2 separate regions of the Homo sapiens genome follow, and region 2 is linked to region 1. The links are contacts of gene promoters, found by promoter capture Hi-C in blood cells and fetal thymus (Javierre and others, 2016). All regions are on one chromosome and are shown on one strand. Each heading gives the region's core, a stretch centred on a gene start or on the middle of the fragment in contact. The rest is flanking DNA. Distances are from core to core; before and after follow the strand shown. Region 1 holds the start of SFT2D1 (SFT2 domain containing 1). Region 2 has its middle 110 kb from the start of RPS6KA2.

Region 1 (2,700 bases), core at 150-2,649:
CTACTTTTTAAATAAACTTGTTTTCACTTGCCCTGAATTCTTTTTGCGCAAGATCCAAGAACCCTCTTTTGGGGTATGGATCCGGACCCCTTTCCCGTAACACTTACGGACATACTCTCTTATTCAACAGAAACATAGTTTTATTCTATAGATTTTACAATCTATTTTCTGACCTTTTAAAGTTAAGGACATAAGGATAAGACTTCTCATATTAGTATGAACAGGCCACATAGAAATATCTTCTGCCTAAAGGAAAAGGATGCTGAGCATTGGACCGTTTCATCACAAGAAGGCGCGACTTGCTTTCCTAGGGTTCCTGTGGTATTTGTTTTTATCTAATTGAGTTTAGATAAAATCTCTACTGAGGCAGTAGGATGGACAATGAAACTTTTTGAGGATCCACCTTTTAACTGAAAGATTTTAGGGAGGAAATGGAGTGGGCAAAGTAATCAAAAGAACAGGCATTCTCATTACCATCTTACCAAGCCTAGAAGCAAACAGAAGAGCAAAACCTATCACTTAATGACTTCTGGAGACCATATTAGACAGGCAGCCCTGATTTTTAATCTCCTTTCTTAGCATGGTGGAAAATGAGAGAGAGAAAAATGCCACTTCCCCATTTCTTAGTGTTTGTTCATCCAGCACGAGCCGGAGAACAGTAAACGCTTGTTCAATGGTTTCACTGTTCACACAAAACTGGAAAAATGGGTTGCATTAGCTATTCCTTTTATAAATAAGATTTCACTCTTTCAAACTCCTAGCTGACCAGTGAACTGAGTAAAGAAATAGCTCTCACAAGGGCAAAGGAGTGAGGCAGCCTCTTGCTATTTCTCCTGAGACGGTCTGAAATACAGCTCCTCGCTTTAATCCTGAGGCAGGTGTTTGTGTCTCCGGATGAGGACACCCAGCTGGGAAGGCTAGCGACGCCCCCAGGGCCACCTCATGGGTGGCAGGGCGCTCTTCGGAGCACGGCCACCTGCCCGCAGGAGCCCTCCGCTCTCCGATTCCAGGCGAGGGGAGGCGCATTCGGGGCCTCGACTTCTGGGAACCCGGGGTGCCGCGGACCCGCCCAGCAAGGCCCCTCGCGGGGCCCGGAGGACGCCAAGTGCAGGGTTCAGTGGTCGTGCCCCAGTCGGGTCTACACTCAATGGCTGTGCGCCAGCTGTGGGCAGGGGGTCCACACCCGCGCTGTGTCCCCGCGCGTTACCACGGCGCACCTCGCGGACAGTGGGAAGGGATAGCCCCACCATCAGCGCCCACTCCGCGGACTTCACGGACCACTACCGGGTCCGAGAGAAAGGCTGGTGAGCATGCGCGCATTGCTACGGCGGCCGCGCTGACGCACAGGAAGCGGGCGGGACCGGACTTCCGGCTGGTCTGTGGGGTTTCGGGTTCGGGGTTTCCTGGTGGGCGTCAGGGGCAGGCAACAGAGTGGCGGCCGCTACGGCCCTGTAACAGGGCCATGGAGAAGCTGCGGCGAGTCCTGAGCGGCCAGGACGACGAGGAGCAGGGCCTGACTGCGCAGGTAGCGAACTTGCGCCCTCGTCCAGTCCCGGGGCTGCCCGCTGGCCCCGGCCGCACTGAGGACCGGCCGAGCGGGTGGGGTGGGTGCGAGGCCGGGGGTCTGGGACTCCTCTGCCCGGCTGGTTGATTTAGGAGGGCTCCGCCTGCTTCCTGGGTAGAATTTGAGAACTTTCCAGTTTTCCATGCGGTCTACTTAAACCCACTTTGAGGCCCCCCCCCGACTCTCCCATCTGGCCTTCTGACTTAGGAATCCGCTAACGTCTGCCCTCGCTTTCCCAAATAATCCATCGCTCCCACGTACTATTTGGTTTTCTGAGCCTGGTGCGGGGTCTGGCCTCGGGCTGTGCAGCGTAAGTAGCTATGCAGGGCATTTATCCTGCAAGCTGCAGTGAGCCGAGACCCTAAAGCTTGTTGCATCTGTTTGTCTTTGGAGGTAAAGGTGGTGTTATGTGTGTGTTTGCTGGGGGGTGGTCTTTTGGAAATAGGGAGACTGGAGGAAAAATAAACAGGACATTGGTAAGTGAAATAATATTGAATTAAAATTTTTCTGTTAAGGCAGTGAGCCCTGGTAAGAGATTTTTTTTTTTTTCTTAATAAAAGCCCTTGTGTCTGCGCCTTACCAGCGAGACTTGATAAGGGTTACTTCCTCCAGCAAGAAGGTTAAAAGTAGCAGTGGAGCAGGAACTGCGGTGTAAGTTTTTTTGTTATTGCATGCGATTATATTGCACGTTATTGTGTGCTGTCGCAGAAGTTGGACGTTTAAAATTGAATTGTATTTCATAAGGATCTTCTATTTGTCTCTCCTGACTTCCTTGTCATTATACTTACTCAGCACTTGGTGTGGGTAGAGTTCTGGGCTACAGTTTTGGGTTCAGAGAGTGTAAGACAAGTATCTGTTCTCATTGCACTCTGTAACTCTGTATATTACCACAGCCACATGTGGCCAATGAATTTTTTTTTTTTTTTTTTTTAGATGGAGTCTTGCTTTGTCGCTCAGGCCTGGAGTGCAGTGGCGTGATCTCGACTCGCTGCAACCTCTGCCTCCCGGGTTCAAGCAATTCTCCTGCCTCAGCCTCCTGAGTAGCTGGGATTACAGGCACCTGCCACCATGCCCTGCTAATTATTTTGTGTTTTTAGTAGAGATGGGGGTTTCACCATGTTGGTCAGGCTGGTCTC
Region 2 (2,700 bases), core at 88-2,587, 390 kb before region 1:
CCCCACCCTCATCCATGGAAAATTATCTGCCACAAAACCAGTCCCTGGTGCCAAAAAGATTGGGGACTGCTGCCCTAAATGGAGACTAGTCCGCCATGAGAGTATTGTCAATTCCTACTATAGATGTTCACGTTGTTTCAGTTTTTTGTTTTGTTTTGTGTCACGTTGTTTGCTTTTGCAAATAATTGCTATAAACATATTTCCTTGTTGATGGGTGCAGAAGTTTCTCTGCAGCACAGCCTGAAGCGGAGTGGCTGGGCAGGAGGATGCCCCTTCCAGCTCTTCTTATCCTGCCAAAGCTTCTCCAGCATGGACACGCTTAGGGCCTTCTCAGAGTTCTCCAAGTTTGATGGAAACTTAATCCAAGATGGTCTTTTTGTGAATGATATAATTCAGAAATTGGATCTAAATTCAGTGGCAGTGCAAGGCTATAGACATAAAGGTTTACAGTTTCTAAACTGAGACTTCTTTCTGACTGAATAATGTTTCACTGATTGCCATAACAAGAGGATAGGAACTTTCAAAATCTGTGATATTTTCTCATTCTGTATGTGAAAACACTGTCATGGTAAAGGTGAGGATGTTTAACATTTTATGAGACAAATTTATAAAATATTTAAGTACCCCCAAAGGAGGAAGTGATTTATAAATAAAGCAGGGCACTGCTTAGCACCAGTTCCATGGTCTTAGGTATGCCAGCCTCAGCCACACACGCTCCCTCTCATGTTGAATAAGGCACATTGTCACAGGGAAAATCAGCACGCCCCCAGTGACTCTTGCAGTGCTTCAGGCCCCACAGACCTGTGCTTAAATTCATTGACTTTCTTAACACCCCTAATGAACAATGGCTGAGTGTCTTAATTGGGACATGAAAGAAATGATTGCCGGGAACCTCCTAATTACTTCACCAATATCAGCCGCTGCTTGTGAGCACAGAGTAATTATATACCATTGGATGGTAAGATGGTGATGGCTTGCTGATAGCTTACGTTTATTTCCTAGCACCTGAATATGGAAAAGAGGACCTATTGCTCTTCCGTTTGGGTAGGTGGCCCTTAGGGAGAAAATCTTGAGTTGAGAATTCATGTCAGTATAAACCCTTACTCCAAAGGGTCGATGTCAACATCTTAGACCCCTGCTAAGGAGAGAAACAGGTATACGAGGCAAGAGTGCTCGGGTTCTGCTAATGGGAGTTATAAACTAGTAAGAAGAGTGAGAATTGCTGCTAGCCATGAATCCTAAGCTCCTGCCAGGAGCCCTCGGCCCCCTTGCCCCTCAGGGGCCATACCTAACTTTCCTCTCTCCCCTCAGGGCCTGTCCCAACCTCTAAACAGGTGATCTCATATCCTATTGTTGGGGAAAATTGAAGCAATCTATCAGCTTACCTCAACTTCCTGCCTCCCTCTTACCAATGTCCCTTCGCTTGCATGCACCTTTGCTTTTGGAGGTCAACACCCCTCAGTCCTCTGTTCCCACACCCTAGCAGTGATCCTACTCCACACCCTACAGTTTCCTTAGAAATCTCAGTTTTTCATTTTACCATTTCTCTTTCTATTGGTTTACTCTGTTCAGCCTGTAAACCTGCTCATATCCGCTTTATAAACAGAAAAACGCAGAAACCTTCCTTTTACTTCTCTCTTCCTCTTCTCTCCCAAACAGTTTAGGGATGGCACCTACCAGGGCAGCCTCCACTTCCCCACTTAGAGTGAGCTCCGGAACCCGCTGAAATGTGACCTGTGCCTGGGACATTCCATGGAAACTGTCCACGAGGGATGCTAGTGACCTCCGTGTTACCAAACCTTTTTCCTAAAGAGACTGGCACTGGCTTCCATACATACATGCTACAAGATAAAATTAAGATTATCAGACGAAGAAAATGAGATGAGAAGAAGGAATATAAGATCCGAATGAGGAAAGATCAGAAAGGTCAGCCATGGGGTTAGTACCCAAAACTCGTACTGTAAGGGTCCCTATGTCTTTTTGGGAGTAGATCCTGCCCTCGTTGGCCTCTAAATTTCCTGGACGACAATGCAAAAGAACATTCCAATTAATTCAAGGATGAGTTCCAAGACATAATAAACTGATCAAGACGGCCAACACCACTGCTGTTACTGACAGTGGCGGCATCAGTCCTGCATGTCCATAAAGGGTCTGTGACTTTGGGAACAGTGCCGTCCACAGGACTCTTGCAGCCTAAGGCTATTAGGCTTTCAAAAGTACTCCCATTCTGGCCGATAATGTGACATCCAAGTATAATTTGATATCATGTTCTGAAGGCTCAAAATGATGTGCAATGGTTTGGCATGGCCCTGAGTACAGGGTAGGCTCGATCCACAGGGGGCAGAGCATCTCACCCTTAGGCTCGTGAAAGCTTCTGCAAAGAGGGTCCCAAACCTCCAGAAATCCGATGCAAAACTGGGCAAATGCATAAGTGTGCACCCCTGCCTCCCACCCTGCACCCCAGCCGCTCCGGTTCCTCATTTCCTCTAAGCCAGCAGGCTTCACTTCAGGTCTTTTGTTTTGTTGTGACTTACTTTTATTTGAACACCAACTTGAACCAGAGCAGCCTTCACTTTGGCTGTTCCCTGCCTCCTTCCACCAGACTCAGCCTCCGGTGGCCTTCACAGCTCCCCCTGTCATCCCCCTGTCATCACCTCTGGTAGGAAGAGGCTCTGACCGGGCCCCTGTGCTGTGCCCTGG

The links. The method cuts DNA at HindIII sites, captures the fragments that hold promoters and counts their contacts. A CHiCAGO score of 5 or more calls a contact.
Region 2: a contact is called between a fragment that was not itself captured here and the fragment with the promoter of SFT2D1 in region 1, in 1 of 17 cell types (non-activated CD4 T cells). The highest score is 5.4, in non-activated CD4 T cells.

What each region holds. Positions count from the first base shown.
Region 1 is chr6:166,341,244-166,343,943 of GRCh38, reverse strand. It overlaps SFT2D1 (SFT2 domain containing 1), which reads left to right and starts at 1,399. Exons shown (of 8, transcript NM_145169.3): 1 at 1,399-1,525. The coding sequence starts at 1,463. It overlaps LOC100289495 (a long non-coding RNA gene), which reads right to left and starts at 1,313. Exons shown (of 2, transcript NR_040022.1): 1 at 797-1,313. RefSeq lists an enhancer at 574-1,467 and a silencer at 1,529-1,688. The HindIII fragment of the contact is 4,850 bases long and covers 1-1,933 here.
Region 2 is chr6:166,732,729-166,735,428 of GRCh38, reverse strand. It overlaps a transcript of RPS6KA2 not described here. Among named protein-coding and RNA genes, the nearest start is that of RPS6KA2, 110 kb to the right of the region's middle. The HindIII fragment of the contact is 2,072 bases long and covers 302-2,373 here.